Linked DNA regions of Homo sapiens: region 2 is linked to region 1. The links are contacts of gene promoters, found by promoter capture Hi-C in human tissues and cell types (Jung and others, 2019). All regions are on one chromosome and are shown on one strand. Each heading gives the region's core, a stretch centred on a gene start or on the middle of the fragment in contact. The rest is flanking DNA. Distances are from core to core; before and after follow the strand shown.

Region 1 (5,053 bases), core at 795-3,294:
TTTCCATGATCCTCCATCAAATTAGTTTTGGAGTGGGCACTTCAGAGTGGGCCTCCTCATTCCCAGGCCGGCAGACTTCCTTCCGCTCCATGCAGCAGCCTCCCAGGTACAATGCTCTATTCACAGTATTCCCCATTCACAGGGATCCTCAGCCTCCATCACCTGCACGTGGGAAAGGGTCTGAAAAAAAGGAAAGCTTCTTGCTCTTTGTTGTTGGGCCTCTGGGGAAGAAAGAACAGGGACAAACAGGAACACCTGCTTGATTGGCCCCTCCCTATGCACACCCAGTAGTTTCAGGGAGTTGAAACAACCTCATAGGAGGGCAGACTTTGGTGGGGAGGGCAAGTCATAGTAAACACAATACCCCGCTCATTCAAGATAAGGCTCAGCAACTGCACAAGTTAACCAAGAGGCTCAACATTTGCCACAAATCCTGTGCCCCAGGCATAGGTCAAGACCCCACAGCAACCTCTGAGCTATGAGAACCGAATCCATGGGTTTGCAGATCCCACTGGATGAAAATGGGAAACAAGAATTATCCAGTGTAGGGTAAGATAAGAAGAATAGAGGTTATGTCACTAAGGATAAAATAGCTCCAGCCTGAGCAACATGGCGAGACCCCATCTCTACAAAAAAAAAAACACACAAAACAAAACAAAAAAAAACTTATCTAGGCATGGTGGCGCATGCCTGTAGTCCCAGCTACTCTGGAGGCTGATGTGGGAGGATTGCTTGAGCCCGGGAGGTTAAGGCTGCAGTGATCCATGATAGTGCCACTGCACAGTAGCCTAAATGTCAGAGCAAGACCCCATCTCAAAGAATAAAATAAAATAGCTGTCAACAGACACATTCCACATGACAACTTAAGGAGTCAAAATTCACTGAATGAAGTGTAGCCGAGCCCAACAGCATTGCTGGCAACCCTGATGACTGAAGGCACTCCAGAGTTTATAATCTATCATTATGATCATCGGTTAGCTTCCTGCAGTGCTTACTGATTCTGGGATTAGATGTACTTGAGATTGCCTGGATTCAGGATAAACGGGCACTTGATCTACATCCGTTGGCACCTTTTGCCAGCTTTCATGCCAGGAATGCCAGGAGAATTCTGCAGATTCACCTGCAGCTGACAGAGGTCAGGTCTCAAGCACCCAAATTCGCAAGGCCATTTTTGAAAACCCAGGGAAAGAACATCTTTAACCTTCCTTGAATATCCCCCTTTGAAATTTGAGCACCCCAAAGCATAGACTTCCTGATCTGGTTTATAAACTGTTTCAGTGACAGCATTCCAAGTTAAAAGAAATCTAAGTTTTTAATGAGGAAGCATCTTGAACTGTCATTCAAAAGAGTGACACTCCACCTCCTTCCAGAAGGGGTTTGAGGCAGTCTATGGTGAAAGACACAAATACTTCAGGACCATTAAAGCAAGGATCAGGAGACAGGCGTGGGGTAGCGGAGGACTCCAAAGGCAGATAATTGTGTCTAAAACCTGGAGTAAAGAGTGTGGCTGCAATTGAGCAAGAAAGCAAAATGTTATCAATTTCCCGGCAATTACATTGAATCAGTTCTGAGTGATCAATGAGCAGTATTGATTTGCACAGCCACTTGGCTCATCTCTGATCCATGGCAGAATCCCATCGCTGACAGGAAAATCGAGCCAACTCACGTTTGCCCCCGAAGCCTGCCCACGCATCCTCGAAGGAGCACTGAGACCTCACCACCTGCGACAGACACCTGGAGCCAGTCCGCCACGCGCCCAAGTTAAGACAAGCCCCAAACAGCACCATCAAAAGCCTATTCCAGAGCCCCTATTGAGGGGTGATTTTATCCAGAGAGGGGCTCAAATGTACTCACCAGTCCATGGGCAAAGAGGATGGCGGTGGGCCTCTTGGACTCAGTGTTTCTAAGTTGGTGAGAAGGTTAACTTTTCTTACCCCCACCCAGCCTAGCCCCCCCAGGGCCACCCCTCTCACCTGATGCGGCAGATATCCCTCTGCTCCGAGGCACTGCTCAAATCCAGGGGCCCTGGGCTGGGTGTTTGCTCTGGCAGCCGCCTGGCGTTCCCATCATTTATCTCTTCATTTTCCTAAGCGTTGTCAGCGTCAGAGAATCAATTACCCACAAGTCAACCAAAGGACTGTTTTTAGCATCATATCACACTGACAAACCCTGTTGGTGAAAGAGGTTTGGCCCCTTGCAGACTTAGACTCCTGGTAAAGTCTCCTTTTATCTTTGGCACAGTGGACATAGTACAAAGGTGTAACATTATTCCAAGAGGATATAGAGAATATATACTGCTATAATAGTGATTGGAGAACTCGGCTGGGCGCGGTGGCTCACACCTGCCATCCTAGCACTTTGGGAGGCTGAGGCGGGTGGATTGCCTGAGCTCAGAAGTTTGAGACCAACCTGGGCAACATAATGAGACCCTGTCTCTAGAAAAAAATTAAAAATTAGCTGGGCATGTTGGCACATGGGTATAGTCCCAGCTACTCAGGTGGCTGAGGCAAGAGTGTCACCTGAGCCTGGGAGGCGGAGGTTGCAGTGAGCCAAGACCACGCTATGGCACTCCAGCCTGGGTGACAGAGCACGACTCTATCTCAAAATATATATTTTTTAAAAAAAGAAAAAATATGTGTTAAAAATAATTGGAGAACTCATAACAGTGAAACACCAAGAGTTTATTGATTCTCCAAGATAAATGTGCCTTTTCAAAAGTTCATATAATTTAGCTTTGTCCCTGTGTAATTTTATTTCACTTTTGGGTAGACAACATTATGAATAAGCGTTATTCTCTCCTTAGTGGGGAATTTGTTCCCTATCTCCCTTGTCGTCCAATTATCAGAATTCTGCACTATTTGATTTACACCTGCTTGGTCACAGGCTGATTTCAACAGCTAGCCTGGGGGCATCCGTCGTCACCTGTCAAGGCAGCCAGACATTGGCAGTTGCCTCAGAGAAGTGTGAAATGAGAGGGAAGAGATGGAAAACCTTGGGAGAGTTGTTGTGTTTCCAGATTTCTCTAGCCTATAGCTAAGAAATCCTCAGGAATGACATAAAAGCACAGGAGGCAGAAGCTCTGGTTTCCCAGGCGGCCGTCGTGGAGGTGTGGAAAGAGCTCCAAGCCTCGAGTCTAGGGACCTGCTGCCTCTCCCAAGCCTGTCAATCATGACCTCTGTGACCCTTAGGAAGTTACTTCTACCTGGCTGGGTGCAGTGGCTCACACCTGTAATCCCAGCACTTTGGGAGGCTGAGGCGGGTGGATCATGAGGTCAGGGGTTCGAGACCAGCCTGACCAACATGGTGAAACCCCGTCTCTACTAAAAATACAAAAATTAGCTGGGTGTGGTAGTGGGCACCTGTAATCCCAGCTACTCAGGAGGCTGAGGCAGGAGAATTGCTTGAACCCGGGAGGTGGAGGTTGCAGTGAGCCGAGATCGTGCCACTGCACTCCAGCCTGGGCGACAGAGCGAGACTCTGTCTCAAAAAAAGAAAAAAAACTTCTACCCTCCGGGCCTCAGTTTCTACCTGGAAACTTGAGAGTTGACATAGAACAGCAACTTTCAAACTATTTTTTTGAGAGGGATCCTATCTTTGCCACCCAGGTTGGAGTGCAGTGGCATAATCTCGACTCATTGCAACCTCCACCTCCCGGGTTCAAATGATTCTCCTGCCTTAGCCTCCAGAGTAGCTGGGATTACAGGTGCGTACCACCACGCCTGGCTAAGTTTTGTATTTTAGTAGAGATGGGATTTCACCATGTTGGCCAGGTTGGTCTCAAACTTCTGACCTCAGGTGATCCACGTGCTTCTGCCTCCCAAAGCACTGGGATGACAGGTGTGAGCCACCACACCCAGCCCAAACATTTTTTAAAAAGTAGCAAAACTCTTTCTTTGGAAACCTACAGAGACAGGTTTTTAATATGGGGCTACTCTGGTTGAAGAGGGGGAAGTGGAGACCCCCTTGCCTATCCCTGAGGTACCTCGATGGGTCACAATTACAAGCCAGTAATTTCCAAGAGTCCCCTTAGCAACACTATTTTGTGGTTCTCCTTCTTAGCCTGCACTGAGCCATGTTCTTGGCATCTAGCAAATATGAGATGTTTCTCATAGAAGCAAGGCTTGAGTGGTATGTCACCTTGCTGGCCAGGATACGAAGTGGTCAGGTCAGGCCAGATCCCCAAGGATTAAGAATGGGCTGATAGTGGCCAGGTGCGGTGGCTCATGCCTGTAACCCCAGCACTTTGGGAGGCCGAGGCAGGCGGACTGCCTGAGCTCAGGAGTTCGTGACCACTCTGGGCAACATGGTGAAACCCCGTCTCTACTAAAATACAAAAAAATTAGCTGGGTGTAGTGGCATGTGCCTGTAATCCCAGCTACTGGGGAGGCTGAGGCACAAGAATAGCTTAAGCCCCAGAGGCAGAGGTTGGTGTGAGCCGAGATGGCGCCGCTGCACTTCAGCTTGAACAACAGAGTGAGACTCTGTCTCAAAAAAAAAAATAAATAAAAACAGGGCGTGGTGGTTCACGTCTGTAATCCCAGCACCTTGGGAGGCTGAGGCGGGCGGCTCACGAGGTCAGGAGATCGAGATCATTCTGGCTAACATGGTGAAATCCCGTCTCTATTAAAAATACAAAAAATTAGCCGGGCGTGGTGGTGGGTGCCTGTGGTCCCAGCTACTCGGGAGGCTGAGGCAGAAGAATGGCTCAGGACCCAGGAGGCGGAGCTTGCAGTGAACCAAGATGGTGCCACTGCACTCCAGCCTGGGTGACAGAGTGAGACTCCGTCTCAAAAAAATAAATAAAATAAATAAATAAATAAAAATAAAAATAAAAATAAATGGGTTGATAGCTTTAAATTAATTATTATTATTATTATTTTATTTACTTAATTTTTTGGAGACAGGGTCTCGCTCAGGCTAGAGTGTAGTGGTGAGATCTCAGCTCACTGCAGCCTTGACCTCCTAGGCTCAAGCAGTCCCCAACCTCAGCCTCCTGAGTAGCTGGGACTGCAGTTGCACGCCACCATGCCCAGCTAATTTTGTTTATTTTTAG
Region 2 (4,927 bases), core at 1,896-4,395, 36 kb after region 1:
ACTGAATGGAAACTCCGTGGCAGGGATTAGACCAGTGCCTGGCACATAGTAGATTCACAATAAATATTTGTCCAATGAATTAATGTCTTACGTCACCAGTGTCTGGCATTCAGGGGTGAACTTCGCAGTGTCCAGTAACCTCATGAAATTATTTGCCACGTTCAGTAATAATTAATTATGCACCTTTTGTTAAATTCTGATGGGGTATGAAAGTCCCCTGGTGTATAAAAACCTCTACCTGTAAGCAAGTCTGGAGCAGGACAGGGCTAGAGACCAGGATAGCAGCTCTGCCCTGACTCATCAGGAGAGTCTAGGGAAACCTCGTGGCCTCTCAGCTCCTCCTTGTCGTTAAATGATGACTCTGTTGGTTGAGGCATCTGCTCTTGCTTTCGAGGTGGGAAACAGAGGCATAGGCTTAGTCATTTACCAAATATTTATGAGTCAGGACCTGGAATAAACTCAAGATGTACCCAAGATCCTTGCTGTTCAAGAGATTACAATGGATCAAATAGAAAACAGTAGATTCCAGTGTAATATTTCTCAAACAATAAGAAATAACATTCTAAAATTTGATCCAGCACATGCATGCTCAGATGTAGATGGATGTTGAAAAAGCTTCAGGATATAATACCGGCCCTTAATGTGATACTCTTTGATATTTTCTATTGTTATTTACCTACTTAAATAAAGTGCTGGCTAATAAAAAATGCTGGTTGCAGCCCCCTAAATGGTTTTCCTGGCTCACTAATGGGCCACAGCCTGCAGTTTGAAAACGATTGACATACTGGGTAAGCGCCCTGACTCTGGGGAAGCCAGCCCCTTTGAATCTTGCCTTTGCCACTTATCAGCCAGGTTATCCCTGGGTAGGTCATATAACCTCTCCAAGCCTTGGTTTCCTCATCCTCATTAGTAATACCACCTCCCAGTGTGGTGGTGAAGTATGCGAGTTGCTGCCTGTAAAGTGCTGTTCGCAACACCTGGCCGTTCATTTGCCGACTGCTGCTGCTGCTGGAACAATGGCCAGGGAACAAAACCTGTCACAGCCAGTCGAAGGGGTGTCTCCTAGTTGAGATCTGCAGGATGAATAGGACTTGTTTGACTTTGGTCATCAGGAAAGGAAAGCCCAGAAATACTGGCAGGAGGGCTGGGAAGTAAAGCACAGAGGTGCAGAGAGAACTAGATGAGAGCCGTACGGCGCACAGTGTGTGTAGAGCAGTTTATGTTTCCAGAACCTTTTCACAACCACCCTCCTGTTACACCTGTGCTGTCCAGTAGGGAACCTTTGGCCACATGTGGCTTTTTATTGTTAATTAGTTAAATAAAATGAAAAATTCAGTTTCTCTGTAACATTTAAGTTTTCAACAGCCACATGTGGCTGGTGGCTACCATTTGGAGAACACAAATACAGAACATTTCCATCACTGCAGAAAGCTTTATTGGACAGTATGACATTATACCCTAACAAAAGTCTTGTGAAGGAAGTAGGTAGGGCATAGATTTTTCTTAGATACTTTATTGTTTCATAACATTCCAAAAAATTAAAACTCATGACTTATTCACCTTAACAGCAACTATTTATGTTTCTGTAGCATCTTTTGATCTTTAGCCCATGAAATCAGCTTATAGATGGTTCCAATCATAGTGTTTATACAATTGCTTATTTTTTTCAATTACTGTTACTTTGCAAAGACTTTCCACTGACCTGATACACAATGTTTATATTTGCCGGGTTAGTGAAGAGGGATTATGCCATGATGTACCATCACTGGGTTAACTGCTTCCTGATTGTTGGACGCCTGGGTTGCTTCCTGTTTTTCAGTATTATGAATAGTGCTGCCATGAACTTTTTTGTACCTGAAGGCTTTTTCTTCTTTTGAATTGTTTCCTTACTATAAATTCTAGGAAGTAAGTTATTCAGTCAAAGGATATAATCACTTTTATGGCTCTTGTTATATTTTGTCTAATTGCCATTTTTTAAAAAAAGGCCTAAATGTATTATAGGTATCATTGTTGCTTGGCTCATGAGAACATCCCGTCTCCAGAGGTCAAGAGATTATTAGCCCAAAGTGTAGCTACTTGCAGATAGAGCAGGGGCTTTTGTCCTCTGCTTCCCAACTCTTGCCCTATCTTTCTATTGTACCACTCCAAATATTTCTTATCACAATGTTGCTGTTAGTAGTAACACTAGTAAATCTGAGTATTTATAAGCTCATAAAGCTTGTTACAGCCTTAAGCAAAAAGCTTGGGGCCAAGGGCGTTTTAAAAAATGCACACTTTATGAGGTGCAACTGCGGAGAAATGAGGACGCGTTCTTAAGCTTTGGTATTCACATGGTGGTGGTGCTGGTAGAGGCTGTTACATTTCTTCCAGTGAAGCTGTTCTTGCAGCCGCCTTGGAATTCACTTCAGGGCCAGTTTATGAGCCACCCCAAGTAATCTGCTTGGAGTCTGAGCATCATACCTTGTATTTGACCAAAAATGGTATTCCTGAGCTCAGTGCCACCTGATTCACTGCACTTGGAACCAGATGATGTTGGGCTCTTTCCAGAAGTCAAATCCTTCCTGGGAGGATGAAGATCTGCCAGCTCTGAGGATTCTGGCTGGGAAGAAAAAGAGCCTCAAGCTTTGAAGGCCATTCCCATGGTAGACAGAGCTGATGTGAAAAGTGGCCATCCTGTTGCCCCAGGCACATGACCTTCTGAAGTGACCAGGCTGAAAGGGAAGCAATACTCGTGTGTAAGTCCGGCTCTGTTTACTTACGAAGGTTGTTTTTATTATTCTTCGGTTACTTCATGTTGGAAACATGGTGCAAAGCAGTGAAGCAGCAGAGCCAAGGTGGCGGCAGGCCTTTTTTTTTTTTTGAGATGGAGTTTCACTCTTGTTGCCCAGGCTGGAGTGCAGTGGCGTGATCTCGGCCCACTGCAACCTCCGTCTCCCGAGTTCAAGCGATTCTCTTGCCTCAGCCTCCCAAGTAGCTGGGATTACAGGCACCTGCCACCATGTCCGGCTAATTTTTTTGTATTTTTATTAGAGACGGGGTTTCTCCATGTTGGTCAGGCTGGTCTCAAACTCCTGACCTCAGGTGATCTGCCCACCTCAGCCTCCCAAAGTGCTGGGATTACAGGCGTGAGCCACTGCGCCCTGTGAGGCAGGTCTTTAGGATTGTCTCTACCCCAGGGCTTCCCCACAGAAATATAATACAGACTATGTATAATTTTACATTTTCCAGTAGCCACATTTAAAAAGCAAAAAGGGATGATGCCTGTAATCTCAACACTTTGGGAGGCTGAGGCAGGAGGATCACTTGAGCATAAGAGTTTGAGGCTACAGTGAGTTATGTTTGTGCCATTGTACTCCAGCCTGGGTGACAGAGTGAGACCCTGTCTCTAAATAAATAAATAAATAAATGGGTAAAAAGAAACAGATTTTTAAAAAATTGTGACAAAATATATGTAACAAATTTACCATTTTAACCATTGTTAAGTTTACAATTCAGTGGTATTTGCAGTGTTGTATAACCGTCATCACTGTCTATTTCTAGAACTTTTTCATCTTTGCAAACTGAAACTCTGTACCCAGTAAACAATATCTCCCCATTTCCCTTCCCTCCAGCCCTTGGTAACCTCAATTCTACTTTCTGTCTCTGAATTTGCCTATTCCAGGTACCTCATATAAGGGGACTCATACAATATTTGTCCTTTTGTGTCTAGCTTATTTCATATATATTTATTCAAAGCTCATAATGTTTTCAAGGTTCATTCATGTTGTAGCATGTATCAGAATTTCATTTCCTTTATGGCTGAGTAATACTCCATTGTATGTATATACTACGTTTTGCTTATCCATTCATCTGTTTATGGACTCTTAGTTGTTTCCATCTTTTGGCTATTGTGAATAATGCTGCTATGAACATTAGTATCTTGAGTCCTTGCTTTCAATTCAATTTTTTTTTTTTTTTAAACAGGATCTCTCACCCCGTCACTCAGGGTGGCGCAATCACGACTCATTGGCTCACTGCAGCCTAGACCTCCCAGCTGGAGCAATTCTCCTGCCTCAGCCTTCTGAGTAGCTGGGACTACAGGTGTGTACCACCATGTCCGGCTAATTTTTAAATTTTTTATAGCAACAGGGTCCCACTCTGTTGCCCAGGCTGGTTTCAAACTCCTGGGTTCAAGTGATGCTTCTGCCTTGGCCTGTCAAAGTGTTGGGCTTACACTTTGGGCGTAACCCACCATGCCCAGCCAATTATTTTTTACGTGTATTTTTTGGTGGCAGGGTGGGGTGGGGGCAGGGTCGGGTGGGGGCAGGGTCTCGCTCTGTCACCCAGGCTGGAGTGCAGTGGCGTGATCGTGGCTCACTGCCTTAAGCTCCTGGGCTCAAGTGATCCTCCCACCTCAGCCTCTCGAGTAGCTGGGAATACAGGAGTGAGCCACCACTCCTGCCTAATTTATTATTTTTTTTGTAGAGATGGGGTCTCGCTGTGTTGTCCAGGCTGGTCTCAAACTCCTGAGCTCAAGTGATCTGCCCACCGTGGCCTCCCAAAGTGCTGAGATTATAGGCGTGAGCCACTGCAATCGTTTCAGCATGTAATCAATATGAAAACATTATGAATGAGATAGATTACATTCTTATTTTCATACTAGGTCTTTGAAAATGGGTGTGTAATTAGCATCTCAATTCAAACTAGCTGCGTTTCAAGTCTTAATAGTCATGTGTGGCTCATGGCCACCATATTGGATAGCTCAGACTTAGCAAAATATTGCATTGTGGCACAGATCTCTGGAAACACAAAGGGTTTTAGATTCAAGTGGGCCTGGTTCCAAAGTAAATTTGCCCCTTTATCATTGGGATGGGCAGAAGAAAGCCACTGATGGGTGCTGTGGTAAAGGGGGAGCAGTTCAGTCATGCCAGGGGAAGAGGAGGGTGAC

What was found. The method cuts DNA at HindIII sites, captures the fragments that hold promoters and counts their contacts. A contact is called where the count stands out against the background at its distance.
Region 2: a contact is called between a fragment that was not itself captured here and the fragment with the promoter of GHRH in region 1, in 1 of the 25 tissues and cell types used here (hippocampus).

What each region holds. Positions count from the first base shown.
Region 1 is chr20:37,259,770-37,264,822 of GRCh38, forward strand. It overlaps GHRH (growth hormone releasing hormone), which reads right to left and starts at 2,045. Exons shown (of 5, transcript NM_021081.6): 1 at 1,974-2,045. The HindIII fragment of the contact is 8,848 bases long and covers 1-5,053 here.
Region 2 is chr20:37,294,800-37,299,726 of GRCh38, forward strand. All of the region lies in intron 1 of MANBAL (mannosidase beta like), which reads left to right. Among named protein-coding and RNA genes, the nearest start is that of MANBAL, 7.6 kb to the left of the region's middle. The HindIII fragment of the contact is 4,244 bases long and covers 1,024-4,927 here.